Linked DNA regions of Homo sapiens: regions 2, 3, 4, 5 and 6 are each linked to region 1. The links are contacts of gene promoters, found by promoter capture Hi-C in human tissues and cell types (Jung and others, 2019). All regions are on one chromosome and are shown on one strand. The core of a region is centred on a gene start or on the middle of the fragment in contact, and the rest is flanking DNA. Distances in the headings are between cores, read along the strand shown.

Region 1 (4,192 bases), core at 188-2,687:
TTAGCCTTGTGTGACTTTGTGGGTCCACAGCCAATATCAAATAACTACAGACAACAGAAACTTGGTTAAAATTCTCAATAGAGGGAAATGATCGCTGGACAGTCAGCAGACTCGCTGTTTTCAGGTCAGCTGCTGGCTCAGTCCCCTCTGGGTGCCAGGGAAACCTGACAGCTGAGGGTTGTGAGAAGAAGCAGTTTCTCTAGGAACTGACTGACATGTCTCCCTAAGGAGAGAGAAGTGACAGGCAACTCTAGGGAAGATGGCTTTCATGGCTTCATAAAGATCTGACTGGCTCTTTGGCTTCTTTTCCAAGGTAGCCCAAATCTGTTCCTGTGTGAATATCTTTGTCGAAAGGGATGGCATGGTCAGGTAGGCTGGGTAGGATGAACTGCGGGAAGGTAGATGACCAGGATGGGGAAGTTCTGATGAGGTGGGGCTGAGGAGAATGAAGACTAATGCCCAAGATCAAAGTTAGGGAAATAAAGTTTCGCTGCCAAGTCCAAAGGTCAGGGTCACAGTGGAAAACTGGACACAAAGCCAAGGTCAGGAGCCGAGAGAATTGGAAAAGTGGAAACAAACCAGGGAACAAGACTAGGCCGGGCATTGTGGCTGATGAGAATGAGCTGGTACCCAGCCTAGCTTCACTGTCTCTCAACCTAGCCTCATGCACAGAAAAGTATCAGCGAAGAGAGGGCTGGGTTTAAGTGATGTCACCAAGGGGGAACAAAAGAAAGCAGCGTTTCTCAACCCAGGTCCATAACTCTCGTGTTGTGCACAAGATTGTGTACATTTTCCAGAGTTTGTTAAAGGGAACAGCGCCCCCAAAAGGGTTAAAGTTTGATTGTGGAATAATCTGGTTATCCAGAAGAGAACGATCTCTGCGGGCTCTCCTGTCTCGACGAAGTCCTTTAGTGGCTGAGGGTCTCGGCCACCTTCCAAAGGGGCGGAATCCCCCTGCCTCGCGTACCCCAGGGGTCTCGGCAGCGCCGCTATTCTGTGAGCCTATTCCTCTCAGAAGCGCCGAGCACTAGGCCTGGAAGAGGACAAGTCTAGCAAATGAGGGGACACGGGCGGAGGGAGGGATTAAAAGATGGGGGTGTGATCCGTGCCAATGGGGACACCCACTGGTTCGAATATTAACGCGAGGTTTGTCCGCTTCTTCACAATCTGTCCGTTTCGTTTTACTGCGAAAGCAAATGTGTTCCCATCCCTCTATTTGGGGATACGATTAGAGTTCCGGGAAGGGGGTGCAGCGCCCGGACTGGCACAACCGCCGTTGTCCCACCTCCTCCGGGGCGGCAACACCGCAGTGCCAGGCCTGGGACTGAGGCGTGGGGTCCCCCCTCGCTCCGTCCTGGCGCCGCCCGTCGCCCCGCCCCTTGGGGGGCCCCGTGGCGCACCCTTGTGACGTAGCGCTTGTGTCGACATCGGCGCGCGCCGAGCCCGGAAGAGGCGCGGGCTAGGAAAGGAGTTGGTTCGCGCAGGTGCGGCGCCTGGGTCCCCATGGCGCTGTGGCGCGGCTCCGCGTACGCGGGCTTCCTGGCGCTGGCCGTGGGCTGCGTCTTCCTGCTGGAGCCAGAGCTGCCAGGCTCGGCGCTGCGCTCTCTCTGGAGCTCGCTGTGTCTGGGGCCCGCGCCTGCGCCCCCGGGACCCGTCTCCCCCGAGGGCCGGTTGGCGGCAGCCTGGGACGCGCTTATCGTGCGGCCAGTCCGGCGCTGGCGCCGCGTGGCAGTGGGGTGAGTGCCAACGGGGCCTGGGTCTCTGAGCCTCCGAGGTCGGCCTTGGAGGTCGGGCGGAGCCGCGCAGAAACAGGGCTTCTCAGAGGTCCCCGGGAGGCGCTGCTGTCCGCGCTGGCCCCTTGGCGAGAAGTGTCGGACGTCTGAGTGGAACCCGGTTCGTCACCGCTGCTCTTTCCACTCGGCTGGCCTCTGCGCCTTTCTCTCATCCCGGTAGGACCAGCCCTAACAGCTTCTTGCTAATCCCGCTTTGTCTGACACCTTTCTCCGAGCCTTCTTCCTCGTTCCAACTTTTAGCCCCTTCTCTTCTGGCGACTGTTGTTTTGCAATCAAAGATACTTGACCTTACCCACTATGACAACACTCTTCCTCTTTCTTCTGAACTTCTTGAAGACGCGTGATGTCTGCCTTTACCCACTTTCGAAACGCCGTGTAGTCTAGAAACCACACGACTGTACTGCAACTCCTCTCAGATTTGCCTTTTTGAATCTTCATTATCTACTCTGCAGCCTTCCACGCATTGAACACGCCCTTCTCCGTGAAATTCTTTTCTTCCCCTGACTTCAGTGACACTGCATATTTAAGGTTCTTCCAAATGACACTACCTCCTTTCTTTGTACTTTTCCTTGGGAATGTAATTATTTTCTTTATAGTATTGATACTGTAAACACTAACTTTAGTCCCTGTCTCAGTTCGATTTGACTTTCTTGCCGTAATCTCAGAGTTATGTATAACCACCACATAAAAGCAGGCCCTCTACCATGTAGCTCACTACTTTCTGTGGAGTGTTGGGGCCGGGAGGGGTAAAGTAGAGCAAACTTGGCCTGAAGATTAAATGACATCATTCATGTAATCTCTCTAGCATAGTGCCTGCTTTAAAAAGCATTCGATATTAGCTATAATTTTGGGGTTTTTTTTTTTTTTTTTTTTTGGACACAGGGTCTCTCTCTCTGTCGCCTAGGCTGGAGTGCAGTGGTGCAATCACTGCTCACTGCAGCCTCGAACTCCCGAGCTCAAGAGATCCTTCTGCCTCAGCCTCTGGAGTAGCTGGGACGACAGGCAAGCACCACCACGCCCAGCCAATTTTTTATTTATTTTATTTTTTTTAGTAGAGTCGAGGTCTTGCTATATTGCCCAGGCTGGTCTCGAACTCCTGAGCTCAAGCCAGCCTCCCATCTTGGCCTCCCAAAGTGCTGGGATTAAATTGTCCTTCCTTGCTTTATGCGCGTTCATTCAGCAGATATTCACCAACTACATGGTTAGTGTCAGGTCTGTGCTAGGTTCTTAAGATACAGAGATGGGTGAAGCAAGGCCCCTGTCTCACTTGTTGGAAACATATTATTGTATCAGTCATTTGGGCTGCTAGAACAGAATACCACAAATTAGGTGGATTAAACAACAAATCTGTTTTCTCGTGGATCTGGAGGCTGATAGTCCAAGATCAAGGTGTTGGCAGGATTGGCTTCCGATGTGGCCTCTCTTCCTAGCTTGCAGCCAGCTGGCTTTTCAGTTAGTCTGCGCATGTACACTCCTGGTGCCTCTTATTCTTCTTATGTGGACACTAGGTCCTTTTGGAATAGGGCTCACCCGTATGACCTTATTTAACCTTAACTACTTCCTTAAAGGCCCTACGTCCAAATATAGTCACATTGGGAATTAGGGTTTCAGCATATGAATTGGTGGGGGGTGGACAATTCAATCCATAACAATTATGGTTAGAAGAGGAACAACCCACGAGGACCAGGCAGAAGCCTTAATGCCTTTTACGACCTTACCTTAGAAGCACATAGGAACTCTTCTACCAGAGTCACAGGTCCACCTGGTTTTAAGGGAGGGGACATAGAACAAACCTTGATGGGAGGAGCATCAGTGTCACATTGTGAAAAGAACATTTGGAATGGGGCATCTTATTGCCACCATCTTGGAAAATATATTTTACTACAGTGACTTTCATAGGACAGACACTAAATAAATGAGATTTCTTCAAGCCAAAGTGGGAACAGGTCCACCTAGGCAAGAGAACCAAATGTGAAAAAGTACATGGTTTGTTTGGGAACAGGTCGGCCTTGTTTTGGAGCGAGAATCCTATGGTAGAGGGTTGTAAAGAGATGATGCTGAGAACGAAGGGTTGGACCAGATTGTGAAGGGCCTTTTATGGGGAAGCCATAAAGGTTTGTAAGTAGTTAACTGATGACAAGTTCTTTGTTGAGAATTGGTGGGAATGTGAAGGGTGGATTTTGAGCAGTGGTTCTAAACTGTTTCACTGCTTCTCATCATTTATTACCCAAAGAGGATTTTTAGCCCAAAGATAGGGGGATATAGGAGGGATGAGGGGGAGCAGGTGTAGTACTTGTATCAGAATCTCATTTTGAGGTTGTAGTTTGACTTCTCTAGAGACACACTCGTATTCACACTCTCTGTCACACAGACACACTCAAAATGCCATTTAATGTGAT
Region 2 (4,386 bases), core at 1,421-3,920, 450 kb after region 1:
CTCTAATAATAATAATAATTTAAAAAAAAGACCCAACTGGTGTTGTCTGTAAGAAATCAACTTTAAATATAGACACAGATGGGTTAAAAGTAAAGGAATGGAGAAAGATGCATCATGCTAACACTAATCAAAAGAAGGCTGGAGGCTGGGCATGGTGGCCCAGCACTTTGGGAGGTCGAGGCGGGAGGATCACTTAAGGCCAGGAGTTTGAGACTAGCCTGGGCAATATAATGAGACCCCCCCATCTCTATGAAAGAAAAAATAAAGCTGTATTAGTTTCAGATGGAGTCAGCTTCAGAGCAAGGAAAATTATGAAGGATAAAGAGGGCCAGGTGTGATGGTTCATGCCTGTAACCCCTGTACTTTGGGAGGCCGAGGCAGGAGGATCACTTGAGACCAGCCTGGGCAACATGGTGAAATGCCATCTCTACAAAAAATACAAAAGTTAGCCAGGCGTGGTGGTATGTGCCTGTAGTCCCAGCTACTCAGAAGGGTGAGGCTAGAGGATCATTTGAGCCTGGGAGTTTGAGGCTGCAGTGAGCCATGATTGCAACAACACTGCACTTCAGCCTTGGTGACAGAGCAAGACCCTGTCTCAAAAACAAACAAAAAAAAAAAAAGAAAAAAAGGATAAAGAGAGGGCCATTACACAATGATAAAGAGATCAGTTCTTCAAGAAGACATAATCCTTTATGGGTATGCCCTAGTATCAAAATACATAAGAGAGAAAAAAAACTGATAGAACTGCAAAAAGAAATAAACAATCTGCTATTATAGTTGGAGTTTTTGACAGCCCTGTATTAGGAGTTAACAGATCCAGGAGGAAGATTGGTAGTGACATAGTTGAAGTGAACAGCAACATGAGTCAACTTGGTCTATATATTCATTTCAAGTTCACACGGAATATTCACCACGATAGACCACATTTTTGGGCATAAAACACTCCTTAACATATTTAAAGAGCTTGAAATCATACATTGTATGCCCCCAAATCACAAAAAAATTAAACAGAATTCAATAACAGAAATATAGCTAGAAAATAGTCAAATATTTAAAGATTAACCAATATACTTCTTTTCTTTTATTATTATTATTTTTTTTTTGGAGATAGAGTCTCACTCTGTCGCCCAGGCTGGAGTGCAGTGGTGCGATCTCAGCTCACTGCAACCTCCACCTCCCAGGTTTAAGCGATTCTCCTGCCTCAGTCTCCGGAGTAGCTTATTAACCAATACACTTCTGAATAATACATAGGCCAAAGAAAAACACTCAAAACCAGCCTAGGAAACATAGTGATACCCCATTTCTAAAAAAAATAAAATAAACAATAATAATAAATTAGCTGGGCGTGGCACACACTTGTGGTCCCAGCTACTCGGGAGGCTGAGGTGGGAGGATCACTTGAGTCCCAGGCAGTCAAGGCTGCAGTGAGCTATTGTGATGGTTAATATCAAGTGTCAATTTGATTGGATTGAAGGATGCAAAGTATTGTTCCTCCATATGTATGTCTGTGAGGATGTTGCCAAAGGAGATTAACAAGTCAGACCCATCCTCAATCCAGTGGTCACAATCTAATCAGCTGCCAGTGCAGCTGGAATAAAGCAGGCAGAAGAACGTGGAAGGACAGACTGGCTGAGTCTTCTGGTCTTCATCTTTCTCCTGTGCTGGATGCTTCCTGCCTTCAAACATCGGACTCCAAGTTTTTCAGCTATTGGACTCTTGGACTTAAGTGATTTGCCAGGGACTCTGGCCTTTGGCCACAGACTGAAGACTGCACTGTCAGCTTCCCTCTTTTGAAGTTTTGGGACTCAGACTGGCTTCTTGCTCCTTAGCTTGCAGATGGCCTATTGTAGGACTTCACCTTGTGATTGTTTGAGTCGATACTCCTTAATAAACTCCCTTTCATATGTACATCTGTCCTATTAGTCCTGGCCTTCTAGAGAACCCTGACTAATACAGCTATGATCATGCCACTGTACTCCAGGCTGGGTGACAGAGTGAGACCCCACCTCAAAAAAGAAAAAAAGACTCGAGAAATTTTGAAAATATTTTAAACTAAATGAAAACGAAAAATACAACTTATCAAAATTTGTGGGATGTAGTAAAAGCAATGCTGCAAGAGAAACCTGTAGCATTGAATGTATATATTCCAAAGGGAGAAAGATATAAAATCAATAATCGGCTTCCACTTCTGGAAACTAGACATAGAAAATTAAATTTCAAATAAGGAGAGAAAAGAAATAATACAAATTAGTCACCCTAGCCTACATAGCAAGACCCCGTCTCTACAAAAAATAAAAAAAACTTACCCAGGTGTGGTGGTACATGCTTGTAAATCCTAGCTTCTCAGGAAACTGAGGCAAGAGGATCACTTGAGCCCAGGAGGTGGAGGCTGCAGTGAGCTGTGATTGCACCACTGCACTTTAGCCTGTGTGACAAATTTGTGGGCATAGAATTCTTCATAATATTCCTTTATTATCCTTTTTTTTTTTTTTTTTTTTGAAATGGAGTCACTACCTCTGTTGCCCAGGCTGGAGTACAGTGGCACGATCTCGGTTCACTGAACCTCTGCCTCCCAGGTTCAAGTGATTCTCCTCCTGCCTCAGCCTCCCGAGTAGCTGGGATTACAGGCACCTGTCGCCACGCCCCACTAATTTTTTTTGTTTTGTTTTGTTTTGTTTTGAGATGGAGTCTCGCTCTGTCACCCAGGCTGGAGTCCGGTGGCACTACCTCGGCTCACTGCAAGCTCCGCCTCCCAGGTTCACGCCATTCTCCTGCCTCAGCCTCCCGAGTAGCTGGGACTAAAGGTGCCCGCCACCAAGCCTGGCTAATTTTTTTTGTATTTTTAGTAGAGACGGGGTTTCACCGCGTTAGCCAGGATGGTCTCGATCTCCTGACCTCATGATCCGCCCGCCTCAGCCTCCCAAAGTGCTGGGATTACAGGCGTGAGCCACCGCGCCCAGCCTAATTTTTGTATTTTTAGTAGAGATGGGGTTTCTCCGTGTTGGCCAGGCTGGTCTCGAACGCCTGACCTAAAGTGATCTGGCTGCTTCGTCCTCCCAAAGTGGTGAGATTACAGGCATGAGCCACTACACCCAGCCTGCGTTATTATCTTGTTGATGCTCATGGAATCAGTAGTGATGGCCTATCTCTGTTTGTTGTTGTTGTTGTTGTTGTTGTTTTGTTTTGAGACTGGGGCTCATTCTGTCCAGGCTGGAGTGTAGTGGCACAATCACGGCTCACTGCAGCCTTGACCGACCCAAACTCAGATGATCTTCCCACCGAAGCCTCCCAAGTAGCTGGCACTACAGGCATGCGCCACCAAGCCCAGCCAATTTTTATATTTTGTAGAGACAGGGTTTCCCCATGTTGCCTAGGCTGGTCTTGAACTCCTGGACTCAAGCAATTGCCCGCCTCAGCCTCCCAAAGTGCTGGGGTTACAGGAGTGAGCCCCATCTCTAATTTTTGACATTAATAATTTGTGTCTTGTTTTTTTCTTGGTTAGCCTGGCTAGAGGTTTGTTAATTTTATTATCTTTTCAAAGAATCATCTTTTGATTTTGTTGATTTTTTTCTCTTTATTTTCTGTTTTCAATTTCATTGATTTCTGTTCTAATTTTTAAAGTTCTGGAGATATTGGAGTGGTCTGAACTTTATGAGATCTTGAGACTAACAAATCAACACTTCCTTCCAAGACAAAGCCCAAATAGAGGAGAAACTGCTGGCAGTAGAATCCAAATAGAACTTAGCAGAGACAATAAGGACAAAAAAAAAAAAAAAGAGAGAGAGAGAGAGAGAGAGAGAAGGTCCAGATAGAAGTAGGTGGCGTAGTAGAGGATGCCTGTCTCGGGAGTCAAAGATCACATTTGTATCACCTATTTTAAGGTAAAGAAAACTCTAAAGCTTTGAAGCTAGAAAAGCTATTCTTGGCCGGGCGTGGTGGCTCATGCCTGTAATCCCAACACGTTGGGAGGCCAAAGTGGGCAGATCACTTAAGGTCAGGAGTTCGAGACCAGCCTGGCCAACATGGTTAAAAAAAGAAAAATTAGCCAAGTGTGGTGGCGGGCGCCTGTAATCCCAGCTACTCGGCAGGCTGAGGCAGGAGAATCTCTGGAACCTGGGAGATGGAGGTTACAGTGAGCCGAGATCGTGCCACTGCACTCCAGCCTGGGTGACAGAGCGAGACTCCATCACACAAAAAAAGAAAAAGGCTATTCTTCCTATTGCTCTTTCTAAACAGAAAAACTCATTGCCCTTAAAAATGAACAATTAGGCCAGGTGCGGTGGCTCACCCCTGTAATCCCAGCGCTTCGGGAGGCTGAGGCAGGTAGGTCACCTGAGGTCAGGAGTTCAAGACCAGCTTGGCCAACATGGCAAAATCCCTTCGCCA
Region 3 (4,875 bases), core at 2,029-4,528, 370 kb before region 1:
CATGAGATTTTTAAAAAATATAATCTTGGAGGGAGGACTAAGTATGACACAAACTCGGAAGTCACAAAAGAAAATTTAAACATATTGGCTTGTGATACTGTGAAATCTGCCTTTGGACTTCATCCTGGTTTCCTGACACAGAGCCCCTAAATCTCTTGGAATTTCCTGGGTGATAGGAGCAACTTTTGTCCTATAATAAGACAAGTCTTGATGGGGTACTTGATAGCCTCCAGATGAGGGCTACCTAACAGTGGAATCAAACATGAGAGGGTTGGAATTTTCAGCTCCATTCCCCAAACTCCAGAAGGGGAGATGAGCTCAAGGTTCAATTGATCACCAGTGGCCAATGATGTAATCAATCATGCCTACACAATGAAACCTCCATAGAAACTTATAAGGACAGGGTTTGGGAGAGCGTCTAGGTAGCTGAACTCATGCAGGTTCCTGAAGGGTGGTTCCCAGAGAGGACATGGAAAGTCCATGCCCCTTCCCACGTACCTTGCCCTATGCTGTTTAACACTTTGTAATATCCTTTATAATAAACGGTTAAATTTAAGTAAGCATTTCCCTGAGCCCTGTGAGCCACTCTAGCAAATTAATAAAACCCAACAAGGGGATCATGGGAACCTCAATCTGTAGCTAGTCAGTCAGAAGTTCTGGAGACCCAGACTTGGGACTACCACCTGAAGAGAGATGGTAGTCTGGTGGTCCTGAGCTCTCAACCTGTGAGATATGACACTCTCTCCAGTGCCATATCTCTACATGGAAATGGTGAGGAGGCAAGAATATACATATGAAATAAACTCGGTATTTAGTAAGTAGTACTGTTTCTATTAGAAAAATAGAAAGGTAGGTAGTGTCAGAACTGAACTGAATTATAGGACATACAGCAGGTGTCCACTGAAGTACTGCTTGGTGTGTGGGGAAATAACCCCCACATTCTGGGATCACAGAGGTTTTCTGCGTTGAGCAGAAAGTAGAGAATAGGAAAAACAACAGTTTGGTGTTTTGGGGTTTTTGTATATTCAAGAGGACTACATAGAAAAATTAAAAGTATACATAATTAAAAACTATCATGAAGTAAAAAGACAATGAACAGGGGGAAAACAGATAACAGAACTAATTTCCCTAATATATACAAGTTCCAACAAATTAATAAGAAAAAAATTACAAATAAAAACTGAGTAAAAGATATAGACAGTGCACAAAATGAAAATACACAGAATTTCCTAATATATGAGAAAAGATGTTGAACCTCACTCATGTAAGTAATATGCAAATAACAAGAGTATGAGAAACGGGCAGTCTTATATATATTGGTGATGATATAAATTGATACAATCTTTTATAGGGTGATTTAGTAATATCTATAAAAATCTAAATTGTATAAACTCTTTGATACAGCAATTTCACCTCAAGAGATTCATCTATCAGAAACACTCACACATTTGCATAAAGACATAAGGATATTCCCTGAACACTGAAGCAGCAAAAGATTAGGAACCACCAAATAGTAAGCTATTTTAACCACAGTCCATCAAGACTGCTGCTGCTTCCATGTTGACTTGCCCTTATGCCAGGTCATGATGGAGTGGCTGAAGTCATTTTTGTACTTAAGAGAAGTCAAGAGGAAATTGAGCTACATATACCATTAGTGGGTTTAGTGGGATATATTTATGTGGTTTTCGCCAAAACTTTTGTGTATACCTAAACTGTCTCAGTATAGGAAGACTTCCAGGAATACTCCTTCTGCCCACTGTACTAACAGGACCCAACACCGAGACACAAAGGTGTGGAGTCATATTCAAATGACTATATCTTAAACACTGGAGGAAAAGACCAAATTAGCTTTCTATTTTCATAGAAAATGACTTACAAAATCACTGACATATGAGGAGACAATGAAACAAAATGCAGCAAAAACAAATATTACAACACATACGTGTATAAGGTAATATTTTTAAAGTGCTGTTTTTTCTGGGTTTTGGTAACGTTTGTAGTGTTTATCAGCTTTGAAAAACTAGTTTATTGTGCTTTCTTTTCTCGTTCTAAATAACTACTCATTTTGTACATAGTTTGGTATTCACTGTCTTTTTAAAAAAATTTTTGAGACAGAATCTTGCTATAGTTGCCCAGGCAGAACTCAAACTCCGGGGCTCAAGCAACCCTTCTGCCTCAGCTTCCTGAATAGCTAGGATTACAGGTGTGTATTACCACACCTCGCTACTCACTGTCTTAAACAAGGCCTCCAAAGTAGTTTTCACTGCAGACCTCAAAAAAGCTGGATCTGCTCCTGATGATGACAATCTCTAAGATTGCTTGTTACACCTATTATGCTATTTTTACACACTTCTTTGCTTGAACAGGCATAGAATATCTCTAGAAGGATAAGAAAAAAATAATGGTTGCTTCTGTGGAGGAGGGCTGGGACATAGCAGTAATATTTCACTATATATCCTTTCTAGAACATCTTCATATGTTATCTATTAAAAATATTTAATTAAAAATAAAAGTGAGGACAGGTGTGATGGCTCATGACTGTAATCCCAGAATTTTGGAAGGCCAAGGCAGAAGGAATGCTTGAGGCCAGGATTTCAAGACCAGCCTGGGTAACAAAGTGAGATCGCCATCTCTACAAAAAAATACAAAAATTAGCTGGGTGTCGTAGTGGTCCCAGTTACACAGGAGGCTGAAGCAGGAGGATTGCTTGAGCCCAGGAAGTCAAGGCTGCAGTGAGCGATGACCACACACTGCACTCCAGTCTGGGCAACAGAGTGAGATCCTGTCTCAAAAAAATGGTAATAATAATATACACACACACCTGGCTACAAAGACTTAATTCTGTAAATATATCAATCACAATTCTTTTGAAATGAATCTGTAAAGTCAATGAAATGCCATTTAATATCCCAGGAGAAATTTTATCAAATTTAACAAGCTGAATCTGCAGGCCATCTAGAAGAAAAAATTGTAAAAAAAAAAAAAAAAAAAAAAAAAGAGTCTCACTCTTTCTCCCAGGCTGGAGTGCAGCAGGACGATCTCGGCTCACTGCAACCTCTGCCTCCCGAGTTCAAGCAATTCTCCTGTCTCAGCCTCAGGAGTAGCTGGAACTACAGGCATGCACTACCAAGCCAGCTAATTTCTGTATTTTTAGTAGAGATGGGGTTTCACTATATTGGCCAGGCTGGTCTCAAACTCCTGACCTCAAGCGATCCTCTTGTCTCAGCCTCCCAGAATGCTGGGATTACAGATGTGAGCCACCACATTTGGTCAAAAACAATTTTTTTTTTAAAAGAACAATGAGAAGGGATCCTTCCAACAAAATATCAACAAGGGAAACAGTATTAGTATTGATGTAGGAATTGTTAAAGTTTTCAATAAAACAGAGTTAGGATAAGATCTACAGAACTTCAGAAATTTCAAGTTTCTCTCCAAGATGGCTGAGTAGAAGCATTTCCAGCATATCTCATCCACTTAGAAGAACAAAAATTGTGTGTAGACAATCACACTTTAAATATATTATCCAAGAGGGAGCATGGGAGTTCAAGAGAAAAGCAAAAGGAAACTTCAACATCTGAGAAGAAGGAAAACAGGTAACCCGTGTGGCCAGGACTGGCTGAAAATCAGGAATGTATCCCCAGTAGGGGAGAGGGTGAGTGAGTGTATTTCTGCAGTCCATGTTTCCACAGGGGAATTGTACAATCCAGGCTGTAGGAGAGCACCTTGACCCTCCTGAATCCTGGATCTCACCTGGGGAGTGACTGGACAAGGAACTGCTCCAGGGACGTCCCATACATTCCATCAGATATAGGCAGCTACAGTAAGAGGCCATTCTCAATCCCAGCTCTTAACAAGCTGTGGATGGTCCTGGGAACAAGTGGCAGTGCCAGGCTTTGGTGTCAGAAATTCGGGCTGGGGCTTGAAGAACTGGGACTCAAGCAAGAGTCTGGACTCCTGCAACCAGAACTGAGAAACTGGTATGGGCAGCTGATACTGAAACTGGGGTATCCCCCTACCTGCTTGGGACCTGAGCAGGAGGAGAGCTGCCATGGAGGCTTGGGATTAAGCTGGGTTGTATCTCCTAAGGCCCTGGACTGAGTTGCAGAACACTGCCATGACTGAACAGGCTGATCTGCTGCCACAGTTAGGAGTGGGAGGGAACTCTGCCAGGACTGGGGCATGAGAAGGAAGTAAGTCCTACTTACACAAGCCACATCTGTGGCTGCTGGGACTGCCCCTCCATACCCATGTTAAGACTTCGGCATAGCAACAGTCATCCCTCACCCAAGAATTTCACCAGGGGCCTGAGAACTGCCCTGCCACCCCCGTCAAGGAAGGTAGATGCACCCACCATTGGGAGGCCTGAGTACAAGCTTGCCTGCTCCAGCTCCACTCAGCTTGGCCCCTACTCCGCAGAGGGAAGTGGAGGTTAGGGGGATCCAGGTTCCTGAGAATTCTGCAACTCAATCCACCATCTGGGACACCTGTGCAAGCACTTGTCCTCAGAAACAGAGGTTAGGCATAAAACCTACTGTTGACAATATAGCTGGCTATTACCTGCAAGTGCCACCTACTGGCCTGGAGGCTGACATGCACAGCCCATTGCAACAACTGATAAAACAAGGGCACAACACTTGTGAATGAGAAGAGCTTCTCACTACTACTGCTATTCCCATTGCCCATACCACCCTGGCTTCCCAGTAGGTCAAGAGTCTGCTCACCTGCATGGTCTACCTCTACTACAACAGGCATTTGAGAGAGCCACCCAGTGGCCAAAGAATCAGCCTACCTGGAACTACCAACATGGGTGCCAGCATATACCACATACCAGGTCACAATGATAGACATACTTAGCCCACCACCACTACCACTGAA
Region 4 (4,399 bases), core at 1,212-3,711, 390 kb before region 1:
GCTCCTGATAGTTGCCATTCTTATATTGTCTAGAGTTCTCTTTACTTCTTACTAGTCAAACCTTTGTTACTCCAATCCCAATATCAATGTTAATTCCTTATGTTAAAACTCTGCTCAAATTACAGTGTGGGTTCCCTAATTTGAGATACAGGATGGATTTTTTTCTTTATACTTTTCATTGTTATCTGAATTTTTAAATAATAAACTTGGTTTTTTGGTGGTAATCAGAAAAGGTAAATTAATTGTATTCTGGAAAAACTAAAAATTTCAATGCAAAATAAATACTAAGTTTTTCTAAGAAACGTGGATTTGATAAACTACTGCCTATGATTTTAACTTATGTTTGATATATAGTAGTCAGGGTTTTATGAATGTTGACTATTTTGTGCCAACAGCCCAGAATTGTCACTTATATGTAAGCAGAAAACAATGAGCTCTGCTTCCAAAGTTATTTAGTTTTCTCAGTGTTTGAATGTTATTTTTTGTAAGTGTATTAATAAAAGTGTATAGAATTGGAAAAAAAAGAAGTTTTTCTTTATAGGACAGAAATATATTTGTGAGATTAAGATGACTAAATTCTTTTAAAAATTAATTTATTAAGACTATAATATTCAGTTTTCCTTTTCTTAGTAAAAATTTCTTTTCAACATTATCCAAAATTGTGCTTCTAGGTAATTTTATGTAATAGAAATGATTTAGACTGCTATTCTTTTTCTCTTAGCTATGCCACATATTGGCCTTTACTAATGGGTTATCAATCATGAGTTATTTGGACGGATGGGTGCTTGTTCATCAAGCACACAGCCTCTATCATCTGACTATTTCAGCCCTTCTTACCATGTTCAAGGATTATCAGTTGGGCTCCAGCTTGTGCATTTCCAACATCATTTTCAGCAATGCACTGATAGAACCCTTCATCTGATTTCACCAGACCCAAAACTTGAAGATTATGTTCCTTCTGAAGAAGAAAAGCATAAATAAAATTACATAATTTAATTGATAAATACCAGATCAAAATCTCAAAAATATGCTTTTTGGAGAGGAAAAAAACAAGTAAAGTTTTTATGATCCAATTATTAAATATTATCCAAGTACTTGTTAACTCAATTTCATACTAAAGCATTGGCAAGGTACCAATTTAACTGAATAGAAGAGTACATACTGTCATTCACGATGAAGAACTTAACGCATGGAAAGTCATACTCTCACTGTTTGCAAACTACACCTTTGCCTGGAAAAAGATCTGGCACGCAATACCAACTGACCACAGTTAAAGTCCAATTTGTGAATTTAAGGTATTATTTTTCCTAAGACTATCTATAATATCAATAGTTCTAACAGATTAGACTACAATAAATTAAATGAAGCCATGTGAGCTTTCCTTAAATGAAAAAGTACTATATGAATGTCAACTATTACTACTGGGCCAGGAGCAGTGGCTCACACCTGTAACCCCAGCACTTTGGGAGGCCGAGGCAGGAGTATCACTTGAGCCCAGGCGCTGAAGACCAGACTGAGCAACACAGTGAAACCCCATCTCTACAAAAAATACAAAATTGGCTGGTCATGGTAGTGCGTGCCTGTAGTTCCAGCTACTCAGGTTGGCAGGAGGATCGCTTAAGCCCAGGAGTTTGAGGCTGTGGTGAGCTATGATCAAACCACTGCACTCCAGCCAGGGTGACACAGCGAGACCCTGTCTTAAAAAACAAAAAAAATTTTTAACTACTGTTATTGGTATAATAAATATGATTTAAAAATTTTCTAGTTTCCAAATATTGATTTTAAGAGGCTATTTTAACTATAACAGATTGCTTTTTAATGTTAAATACTTGTAAATTACTTTTTGCAACAGGAGATCATGCATTTCAAAAATAGAAAATATATTTCTAAGAATGTTTACTTGTATGACAAATTTGTAATGAGACATTATGTCTTTAACAACTATAGTTCTGATCATTTTTATGAATGTCATGTATAGATCTCAAGGTATGTCATTAATCTTTATTACTAAAGCTGGATAATTCTATTACTAAAATGTTAGATATTGATGATAATAGTAGGTAATATCTAAGAATCATTTACTATATATAAAGTATAGTAAAAAGCAATTATGGCTGAGTATTCTTAAATACACTTGACACTTTTTAAATGCATTTTTAAAAAAGAATCTTTATAACTATTGCTACCACAATTGTCCGACACTGGGTCATCCTTATTTTGAAGGGTCTGGGCATCGGTATACGATTTAAGGTTAAGTTTTGTATAGTCAGTTGCATTCTTACATATTATGTTTTTCAAAAGGATCATCTTTCCACACTTCAAGGAGAAGTGTGGAAAGATTTCTGCTTCTTGAACAGAGAGCTGTGAAGACAACTGGGGACACACATACACGCACACACATGTGTGCTAATCATCTGCCAGAAAATGGTGGCAGCTGTGTTTCAGAGTGCCAGTGTGTTCAAGTAAGAGTCTAGACTCTAGGCTTAGGTAAGCCACTGACTTGCTATGTGATCTTACATAAGCTACCAAAGTATTTCTGGGCTCAGCTTTCTCATCAGCCAATGAAGGTATTACATTCTATGTGAATTCTTCTATTTCATTTGCAGTACACAAACTAGTATATATAAGATAACTGATCTCTCGGTGACTACATTTAAAAATATCTAAAGGTTACAGAAATAAACACACTTCTTTGAAAAATACTTACTACAATCTTAAAATAATCACTTGGGATAACCATATCCCCATTTTTGACCCACTTCACAGTTGGAGTTGGTTTTCCAGTCACTTCACATTCAAATACAATATCCATAGATTCGTGAGCATATATATTAGTAGGCTGCTTCAGGAATTCAGGTTGAGCTTTAAAATAAAAAGGAAATTAAGACATTAATGAAAATAGAACTAGGCAGCTATTCATATTTCAACCAATTTTTAAATCATAAAATCCACAGGATTTTTACTCATTATTTGAAGCTTTCACATATTTTTGCAAAAGCATAAAATAAATATATAATAAAAAATACATGTTAGGAATACAATTATCTTTAAAAAATGATTTGCTGGTACAACTAACTGTTTTAAAGATAATTTCTGAGTTTCCTTATTTGGAACTATTTACTAAGTTGACTATATTGGAGAAATTAAAAATGTCTAAAAATAAATATTAAAGAATACTTCCCTAAGATTTATACCATTTTTTAAGAGCTATAATTAGAATTCAAAGAGTGGAAAAGATTGATAAAACTTTCCTTTTCAGTCAGCTTGATAAGTAAGAACAACAACAACAAAGTAAAATAAACGTCACATTAGAGTCCTTAAACAGCTCACTCATGCAACACACTCCTATTACTAAGATCCCTCATTATATGCAATGGTTTTACAGGGTGACGGGGAAAGGATAAGTACATTTGAAAAAGTCTGAATATTCCAGTAGCTCCCTTTCCACATGCCCCACAGCTGTAAATTGCTAACTTACAAATAATAGATCATAATATTTTTAATTAGAAGGGTTGAAGTAGATCTAGTCCAGCATCCTACCTAATGATATAATTTCCTATATGACATCCTTGACAAAGGGTCTTAGCGATCTGTATTTGAAAAGTGTGAATGACAGGAACTCCCTACATCACAAAGCAGCAAGCTCCACTGCAGGCTAGTTCTATGAAATAACAACAACAATGGCAACGACAGCAGCTTTATTTACAGTTGACCTAACATCTGCCCAGCCTGCTGGGATTTTGATTGGGATTGTGTTGAATTTGTGGCAACTTGACGTCTTAAAAATATTGTCTTCTTTTCCCTGAACACAGGTTTATCTCTCTATTTAAGTCTGATTTCTTTCATAAATGTTTTACAGATTTCAGTAAGCAAATCTCATTCATGCTCTGTTAGATAAATACCTAGGTATTTCAAATACTTTTGATGCTATTCTAAGTGGTACTTTAAATTTTTTAAAATTTCCAGTTGTTCTCTGCTAGTATGTAGGAATGAAATTGATTTATGTGTATTAACCTTTTATCCTGTGGCCATCCTAAATTATCTCATTAGCTGTATCAGCCTCTGTAAATACAGTTTGGGGATTATCTACATAGACAATCATGCTTGTATGTGAGTAGAGACAGATTTATTTATGCCTTTCCAATCTCCCTTTCCTTTTTTAAAAAAGAACTTTTTTGGCCTATTGCACTGTCTAGAGCAGGCCCTGAAGAGAAATCTAAACTAGCTACATAACTTAGGTAAATGAAGAACAACAGTACAAAAAGGAGATAGAACCCCAGTCAAGCAGAACCTCCCCCAAGGAGGGAAATCATGTATAATCTTAGGAAACAACATACATTCACAGTGATGGAAGATCCAGAAAACATAAATCTGTACAACAAGATGAAATCAGGGAAAT
Region 5 (4,239 bases), core at 1,544-4,043, 350 kb before region 1:
AACTGTTTGAAGAGAAAAAGGAAAAGTTTCTGTTTTAAAAAACCCTCATGACCCATTTTAAGTGTTATCAACAATCTGAGATGACAGGAAATACATGATGGGCTAATTCACGTCACTGCATGTGTAGAAACTCCAGGAGTTAATGATAAGACAATAAATCTGAAACATTTAACAGATGAAAAATGAACTTACAACCTTTTCTACATTAACACTCACTATGGCATTTCCTATAGCTATAACTTCTTAAAAAAATAACAGAAGTCAGACAGGTATGACTGTATTTATATATATCTCTCCAACTATTTCTCAAAATCTGCTTTCCCTATCTGAAAAATAAATGCTTTCAATTATGGGACAGGGCTCAAAACAAAATTTTCCAAATATGTTTTTGCACATTATGAGTTATAATCTGTAAACAGTAAAAAAAGAGATGATCTCATGTGGCACACATGAACAATACAGCTTGAATTGTAACTACCACCCAGATTAAGAAACTGAACATAAACACACCAGAAGCCGGGCTGTGCAACATTCGGTAACGATTCTGCCCTTCTCCAAAAGTAATCAGTATTCTGACTTCTAAAACCATAGATTAGTTTTGTCTGTTTTTGAAGTTTACACAAATGGAATTATATATAACAATGTAATTACATATATATAGTAGGTATTCTTTTGTGTCTGGCTTCTTCAAGGGTGTTTGTGATATTTACCCACATTGTCGAATGTAGCAGTGATCTGTCAATATTCATTGCTGATAATTTGCCATTGTATGACTGGAAGACTACTCTACATTTGTATTTTGATGGAGATTTGAATTATTCCCAGTAAGAACATTATTGTGCATGGTTTTGGGGGCATATAATTATACATTTCTGGTAAGTATACTCCTAGGAATACAACTACTATATCATAGGGTATTTCTGTGTACAGTTTTTTTAAGTTTTTATTTTTTAGAGATGGTTTTGCTTTGTCACCCAGACTGGAATGCAGCGGCACAATCGTAGTTCACTGTAACCTCAAATTCCTTAGCTCAAGCAATCCTCCTGCTTCAGTCTCCTGAGTAGCTGGAAATACAGGTGTGTGCCACTATGCCTAGCTAATTTTTTCATTTTTTGTAGATATAGGGTCTCACTATGCTGCCCAGGCTGGTCTTCAAATCCTGGCCTCAAGTGATCCTCCTGCCTCAGCCTCTCAAAGTGCTGGGATTACAGGCATGAGTCACTGCGCCTAGCCAGTGTACAGTTTTTAATAGATTCTGCCAAGCAGAATTTTAAAGTGATTGTGTCAGTGTATACTCCTGTCAACAGTACATTAGAGTCCCCAGTGGTTTTCATCCTAACCAATGTCTGGTATTTGTTGAGCTTTTCAACTTTAGCCATTATAGTGGAATACAGTGATATCCCACTATGGTTTTTATTTGCATTTCTCTGAAGACTAATAACGACAACCACTTTTTCAAATATTAATAGCTAGCTAGACATCTTCTTCCAGGTCGATGTTCAAGTCTTTTGCCCATTTTCTATTGGTTTCTGTCTTTGTTTATCTTACTGATCTGTAGGAGTTCTTTGTAAAACCTACATCAGGGATTGGCAAACTTTTTCTGTAAAGAGCCAGACAGTAAATATTTTAGGCTTTGTGAGCCATATGGTCTCTGTCACAACTACTCAACTCCTGTGTAGTGGCATGAAAGCAGCCATAGGCAATACATAAATGAATGAGTGTGGCAGTATGCCAGTAAGACTGCATGAACAATAAATTTTGAAATCTCATAAAGTTTTCATGTATCACAAAATATTATTCTTCTGATATTTTTCAACTATTTAAAAATATATAAACTATTTTTAGCTTACAAGCTGTACAAAAACAAGCAGTCAGGAAGATTTAGCCCACAAGCTGTACTCTGCCAACCCCGGGTCTAGATAAAGATCTCTGTCAAGTAATGTATGTCTTCCCAGGGATTTATCAATATTGTTATGCATTACAAAGAACCAACTTTTGGCTTTGCTGACATTCTCTGTTTTGAATGTTTGTTTTTTTATTTCATTAATTTTTGCTCTTGTTATCATTTTCTTCTTCTGTTTTCATTGGTTTGCAAATATTTTCTCCCATTCCATAGGTTGTCTCTTCACTGTTGATTGTTTCCATTACTGGCAGGAGCGTCTCAGTTCAATGCAATCCAATTTATCTATTTTTGCTTTCGTTGCCTGTGTTTTCTGGGGTCATATCCAAAAAAACGTTGGTCTTTGCAAAGACCAACGTCAATAAGCTTTTCCCCTCTTTTCTTTTAGTAGTTTTACAGTTCAGGTCTTATGTTTAAGTGTTTAATCCATTTTGGGTTGATTTTTGTGTATGGTGTATATGTGATTTACATATATGAGATAAGGATCTGATTTCATTCTCCCACATGTGGCTATCCAGTTTTTCCAGGACCATCTACTGAAGAGACTATGCTTTCCCCATTGTATATTCTTAGCATCGAGAGAGCCAGGAAAAATCCGCACTGCTTTTTCTTTTTTTCCTTTTAAAAAAATTCTCTCCAAGTATGACAACCAATGCACAGCTTTTTATAAGCCTCGGAAGTCACATATGACTTCTGCCATACTCTATTGATCCAAATAGCTCCAAGCCTGCCTAGATTCAAGAGCAACGGACATAAACCCCACCACTCTATAGAAGGATAGTCAAAGAATCTGGGAGCTGTTTTAAAACTCCCCCTTTGTTTTTTTGTTTTTTTGTTTTTTTTTTTTTTTTGAGACGGAGTCTCGCTCTGTCGCCCAGGCTGGAGTGCAGTGGCGGGATCTCGGCTCACTGCAAGCTCGGCTTCCCAGGTTCACGCCATTCTCCTGCCTTAGCCTCCCAAGTAGCTGGGACTACAGGCGGCCGCCACTACGCCGGCTAATTTTTTTGTATTTTTAGTAGAGACGGGGTTTCACCGTTTTAGCCGGGATGATCTCGATCTCCTGACCTCGTGATCCGCCCGCCTCGGCCTCCCAAAGTGCTGGGATTACAGGCGCGAGCCACCGCGCCCGGCCAACTCCCCCTTTGTTTTAAAAGGCTCTTGCAGTATTTCCCAGGTATATCTTTTATTGAGTATTTATTCCAAAAGTGTTTTCAACGTATCTTTGTGCAGCAAACCTTCAGAGATCTTGTGTGATAATTTTTATTATGTCTCACATTTTGGATGCATATAAATTGTGTGTATTCAACATCTTTTAACACCTTAAAAAGATTACGCTATTGTCCTCCCGATACCAGATTTCTCAAATCAACACTTAGGTACAATCCAATCTTTTTCTTTTGTAGGTGATCTGCTCTTTGTCACTGGAAGCTTTTAGAATTTTTTTGTCTTTGATATTATACGTTACTGTATATATAATTATACATTATTGTATGTTACTGTAAATGGGCCTCAAGGTGGGTTTTTCCTTCTTTCACCTATTTAACAGTCTACTAGTCCTTTTAGTCTAAGGTGTTCTACAAGTCTAATTCTGAAAAATTTATCTTAATTATTTCTTCAAATATTTCCCTCTTCCTTTCTCTCCTCTAAGACACCTATTTATCTAGATAGTCCTTCTACCTATACCTATCGTATCTCTTAGATTTTACTCCATGTGTTATCTTTCTTTATCATATAATGCTGCATTCTCAGAGAATTCCTCAATGTAATCTTCCAATTCATGAGTTTGCTCATCAATGTTATACCTTTCTCTGGCTAGGCACAGTGGCTCATGCCTATAATCCCAGCACTTTGGGAGGCCGAGGCGGGTGGATCACTTGAGCCCAGGAGTTCGAGACCAGCCTGGGCAACATGGTGAAACCCCATCTCTACCAAAAATACAAAAATTAACTGGGCCTGGTGGCACATGCCTGTAGTCTCAGCTACTTGTGGGGCTGAGGCAGGATGATCGCTTGAACCCAGGAGGTCGAGGCTGCAGGGAGCAGAGATTGTGCCACTGCACTCCAGCCTAGGTGACAGAGGGAGAGGCTGCAGTGAGCAGAGACTGCACCACTGCACTCCAGGCTGGGCAACAGAGGGAGACCCTGTCTCAAAAAAAATCAAAATAAAACAAAATTTAAAAATGGGATACCTTTCTCTATCATGCAGATTGCTTTATTCTTTATTTTTAGTATATTTTTCATTCTTAATATTTCTATTTGGTTCTGTGTTTATATTTTCTTGTTTTTGCATCATATTGCAAATATTTTTCTTATCTCCTTAAATATATTTATGGTTATTTT
Region 6 (4,330 bases), core at 6-2,505, 440 kb before region 1:
TAAAACTAATAAATAAGGCTAGCAAGGTCGGAGGATATGAAAACCAACTGTAGTTCTATATTTTAGGAACAATCCAAAAATGAAATTAAGAAATCAATTCCATTCACAAATTCCACTCACAATAGCATCAAAAAGAATTAAAATACTTAGAAATAAATTTAACAAAAATATCTAGGGATAAATTTTAAGATACTCAGGAATAAACCTAAAAGAAGTGTAAGACTGGTACAAAGAAAAAATTACAACACATTGCAGAGAGAAATTAAAGAAGATCTAAATAAATAGATAGTCCATGTTCATGAATTGAACAACTCAAAGTTGTTAATAAGGCAACTATTAACATGCTAGAAGAAATGCAAAATGCTAGAAGAAATGCAAAAGACCTAGAATAGCCAAATCAATTATCAAAAAGAACAAAAAAAGTTGGAGGATTTCAAAATTTACTGTACTTCAAAATTTACTAATTTCAAAATTTACTGTAAAGCTACAGTAATCAAGACATATGAATAGGCACATCGATCAATGAGATAATTCAGTGTCCAGAAATAAACCCTTATATTTGTGGTCAATTGATTTTTGGCCAAGGTGTCAAGAAATTTCAATGTGGGAAGAACAGTCTTTTCAACAACTGGTGCTGGGACAACAATATATCCACATGCAAAGTAATGAACTCACATCATATATAAAAATTAACAAAATATCTCATAGTCTTAATCTAAGAACTAAACTTCTAGAAGACTTCATGTCTTGAGTTAGCAAAGAATTTTTATACGTTACATCAAACGCACAAGACATAAAAGAAAGTATGCCCTGATAAATTGGATTCTATTAAAAACAAATACTTCTGCACTAAAAAAAACCCAGAAAAAAACAAAACAAAAACAACAACAACAACAAAAAACAACCCAAAACTAAGTAAATGAAAAGCAACAGACTGGCAGACAATATTTCCAAATCATGTATCTGATAAAAAAAAAAAAAACTTATACCCAAAATACATAATGAACTCTTACAACTCATTAAGAAAACAACCAAAGTTAAAAAAAAAAAGGCAATAGCTTTGAATAGTCATTTCATCAAAGAAAACATAGAATAAGCACATGAAAATGACATCATTAGTCATTAGGGAAATGTAAATTAAGAGCGCAATGAGATAACTACTCTGGTGGCAGAAGGGAAAGCAACCAGCCTGACTCTAAGAAACAAAGGTTTTTACTACATGTGGCCTACAGATCTGTATTTTTCATGTTTGCTTTGGGCCCTTGATGACTGGTTGGCATTTATAAAAGTCTTTGATAATTTCTGGACACTTTAATTTTATGAAGACTTCAGACAGATTTTAAGCTCAGGTGTTTTGAGCAAAAGAAATGTCCTAGGACTGTGTAACTATTGCTGTTTTACACTAGGAAAAAAAAGGATGTTTAATAGTTTCAACTATCCAGTCTTTCTTTCAACAGCTTTACTGAAGTATGATTTACATACCATAAAGTTCACCCATTGTAACTGTACCAAACAGCCTCCAGAATAAGTCTAAACATCTCAGGACAGTGTTCAAAGTCCTCCAGACTGGTCCCATCCTCGCTTTCTAGGCTTATTTCCTAAACAGGATGTGCTCTTGATTTGCTTGGTTACTTAACAAGAAGGAACTTTACAGCTTTTATACCTTTGTTCATACTGCTACTATGTTTAGAACAGTATGTAAACACCATGTAAATCTGAATCAAGCCAAAGGCCACTGGGAAATCTATTTGAGAAAAGGTATTACATTTTCAAATGTGAGCATTGCTGTCCGCTCTGACCTGCTGCTCAAATGCTTGGCAGCAGCTTCACACTGGCCCAGTCGCTGAAACCTAAGGGCCTGCACAGGGTTGTAAGTAGCAGAAATTGAATTGTTCCGTGGAAGTTCCTAAAGAATGATGACGTTTCTCCTGATCTGGCTTTTTTGTTTGTTTGTTTTTGAGATGGAGTCTGTTGCCCAGGCTGGAGTGCAGTGGTGTGATCTCGGCTCACTGCAGCCTCTGCCTCCTGGGTTCAAGCAATTCTCCTGCGTCAGCCTCCCGGGTAGCTGGGATTATAGGCATGCGCCACCATACCCGGCTAATTTTTGTATTTTTAGCAGAGACGGGGTTTCACCATGTTGGTCAGGCTGGTCTCGAACTCCTGACCTCAAGTGATGTGCCTGTCTTGGCCTCCCAAAGTGCTGGGATTACAGGTATGAGCCACTGCGCCCGGCCTGACCCGGCTTTATATTGAGTAAGTCATCAGAGCTGCTCCTAATATTTCTGAGAATTAACTTTCAAAATCTAGCTATGCTGTGGTTGACGGTTCCAGTTTCAATACATTAGATTTGTGACTGATAAAGTGTCACTTAGTAACAGTCTATAATTATTAGTTTAACCAATACATGTATTTGAAAGTTTCTGAAGGTGGAGATCATTAAATTCTGCACTAGGCATGTTGCACCCTTGGTTAAGCAGATCCCCAGTTATCCTAATTTGACGCCCACTCACACCAACTACAGCTGTGAGTAGGTACATTTACATTTTCTTTTTGGAATCCAAATTTTGTTCCTTTTTCATAACCTTTCTTTGAAAATAGTTTTGAAATTTCTTTAAAAATTTCTAAGCTCATTTGAAAGGTAGGAAAGTATCATGGGAAATATTCTTTCTCTCTGGCCCTTCATTAGGAATCTACTAAATTGTTATTTCCCAGGAATGTTCACTCTAACATTATTCAGAATTCATTATTCAGAACGGAGTCAGATTTACATGGTGCTTATTACTCCAAACATAGTAACAGTGTGAACAAAAGTATACTTCCACAGAATATTACTTTTGGGAAATGTTAACACATATACCGTAAAATAAAAAAGAGAACAACAATCAAATTTGGGAGATTGTAGAGATTTGCCATGCATATTAGTATGTTAATGACTCCTAGCACCTCTTCTGTTTGTTAACCTAGCATTTCTCATTCTTATTTGATCATGAAATCCCTATTTCCCCAAACAGTAATCCAGTCTGGGGATCCATCCCTGAATTAAATGCTTCCTGAGATACTGTCTAGCAGAGAGCCGCTTTAAAAGAGCCCATGCAGGCATTCTTTGGATCACCATGGCAGACGGGAGAGGCAGGACTAGACTGCAGCTCCGACTTGGACGGACAGAGCAGTGTGCGGAGGCTCGCACTGTGAATTTAAGCTCCAGATTGACTGCAAGAACAAACCAGAAATCCCGAGAGGACCCACAGGAAGTGGATTCTGAAGGCAGTGGATTGCTCATGCAGGACCTGGGAGACACCCCAAATACTGTGAGTGCCCCAAGTGCCCCAACTGTGGAAGTGGGAAAGGGAGATTCTCCTCTCCTGAACACACATCCCCACTGGAGAAACTGAAGGTTGTTTGAGGGAGAAGTTTCCGACCTTACCTGGAGCTGAGTCAATTTAGCGAGCCAAGCAAAATACAGGGGTAGAGGAAGCAGCGAGAAAGGCCCCGGGAGCTCACTAGGTCCCCAGGCAGGCCATTCCTAACTGGCACCACAGGGATCCTTTGGGAGGGCAACCGGAGGAGTGTGGGGAAAAACACCACAGGGAGAAGGAAATCTCCAGCTGAACTTTGTAACAATTTGAAGCTGGGGAGAACCCTCCTGGCCAGAACTCGGGAAAGGGTGCGAATCAGGTGTGCAGACTCCACAGGCTGGGGAAGAATCAAGCCCTTTTCTTTCACAGCTGGGAGGCAGGCAGCCTGGGGCAAGTTCTCAAGCCTGGCTCCCCAACTGCTGGCAGACTCGGGGCTGTTAGATGGGGCACAGTGAGAATGAGACTGGCCCTTTGGTTTGCGTGGGAGCTGGGTGAGGCCTGTGACTGCGGCTTTCCACCACTTCCCTGACAACCTGCATGACTCAGCAGAGGCAGCCATAATGCTCCTAGGTACACAACTCCATTAACTCACCCCCATCCTCCACAGCAGCCGCAGGGAGACGCGCCCAAGGAGAGTCTGAGCTCAGACACCATCTAGCCCCGCCCCCTCCTGATGGTCCTTTCCTACTCACTCTGGTAGCTGAAGACAAGGGTATATAATCTTGGAAGTTCTAGGACCCCGCGCACCTCTGGTTCCTCTCTATACTACCACAGCTGATGCTCTCTGGAAAGTACAAACTCCCGGCAGGAGGGCAACCAGCACAAAAATAGAGCATTAAACCACCAAAGCTAAGAACTCTCACAGAGTCCATTTCACCCCCCTGCCACCTCCACTGGAACAGGTGCTGGTATCCGCAGCTGAGAAACCCATAGACGGTTCACATCACAGGACTCTGTGCAGACAACCCCCAGTA

What was found. Contacts are between HindIII fragments. The study calls those that stand out against the background at their distance.
Region 2: a fragment that was not itself captured here is called in contact with the fragment with the promoter of ADPGK in region 1 in 1 of the 25 tissues and cell types used here (mesenchymal stem cells).
Region 3: a fragment that was not itself captured here is called in contact with the fragment with the promoter of ADPGK in region 1 in 2 of the 25 tissues and cell types used here (dorsolateral prefrontal cortex and mesendoderm cells).
Region 4: a fragment that was not itself captured here is called in contact with the fragment with the promoter of ADPGK in region 1 in 1 of the 25 tissues and cell types used here (dorsolateral prefrontal cortex).
Region 5: a contact is called between a fragment that was not itself captured here and the fragment with the promoter of ADPGK in region 1, in 3 of the 25 tissues and cell types used here (IMR-90 fibroblasts, aorta and dorsolateral prefrontal cortex).
Region 6: a contact is called between a fragment that was not itself captured here and the fragment with the promoter of ADPGK in region 1, in 3 of the 25 tissues and cell types used here (dorsolateral prefrontal cortex, hippocampus and mesenchymal stem cells).

What each region holds. Positions count from the first base shown.
Region 1 is chr15:72,781,003-72,785,194 of GRCh38, reverse strand. It overlaps ADPGK (ADP dependent glucokinase), which reads left to right and starts at 1,437. Exons shown (of 7, transcript NM_001365225.1): 1 at 1,437-1,736. The coding sequence starts at 1,504. It overlaps ADPGK-AS1 (ADPGK antisense RNA 1), which reads right to left and starts at 2,360. Exons shown (of 3, transcript NR_040107.1): 1 at 1-2,360. RefSeq lists enhancers at 912-1,121, 1,172-1,231, 1,992-2,061 and a silencer at 1,282-1,741. The HindIII fragment of the contact is 4,696 bases long and covers 1-2,496 here.
Region 2 is chr15:72,328,573-72,332,958 of GRCh38, reverse strand. No RefSeq gene overlaps it. Among named protein-coding and RNA genes, the nearest start is that of CELF6, 11 kb to the right of the region's middle. The HindIII fragment of the contact is 4,054 bases long and covers 644-4,386 here.
Region 3 is chr15:73,156,331-73,161,205 of GRCh38, reverse strand. The region is part of intron 5 of NEO1 (neogenin 1); the gene reads right to left. Among named protein-coding and RNA genes, the nearest start is that of NEO1, 110 kb to the right of the region's middle. The HindIII fragment of the contact is 6,272 bases long and covers 143-4,875 here.
Region 4 is chr15:73,174,866-73,179,264 of GRCh38, reverse strand. NEO1 (neogenin 1) reads right to left here. Exons shown (of 29, transcript NM_002499.4): 6 at 2,708-2,862; 7 at 838-958. Among named protein-coding and RNA genes, the nearest start is that of MIR12135, 120 kb to the left of the region's middle. The HindIII fragment of the contact is 4,235 bases long and covers 344-4,399 here.
Region 5 is chr15:73,137,268-73,141,506 of GRCh38, reverse strand. All of the region lies in intron 5 of NEO1 (neogenin 1), which reads right to left. Among named protein-coding and RNA genes, the nearest start is that of NEO1, 87 kb to the right of the region's middle. The HindIII fragment of the contact is 5,639 bases long and covers 1-4,239 here.
Region 6 is chr15:73,225,118-73,229,447 of GRCh38, reverse strand. The region is part of intron 7 of NEO1 (neogenin 1); the gene reads right to left. Among named protein-coding and RNA genes, the nearest start is that of MIR12135, 73 kb to the left of the region's middle. RefSeq lists an enhancer at 3,030-4,229. The HindIII fragment of the contact is 4,439 bases long and covers 1-3,474 here.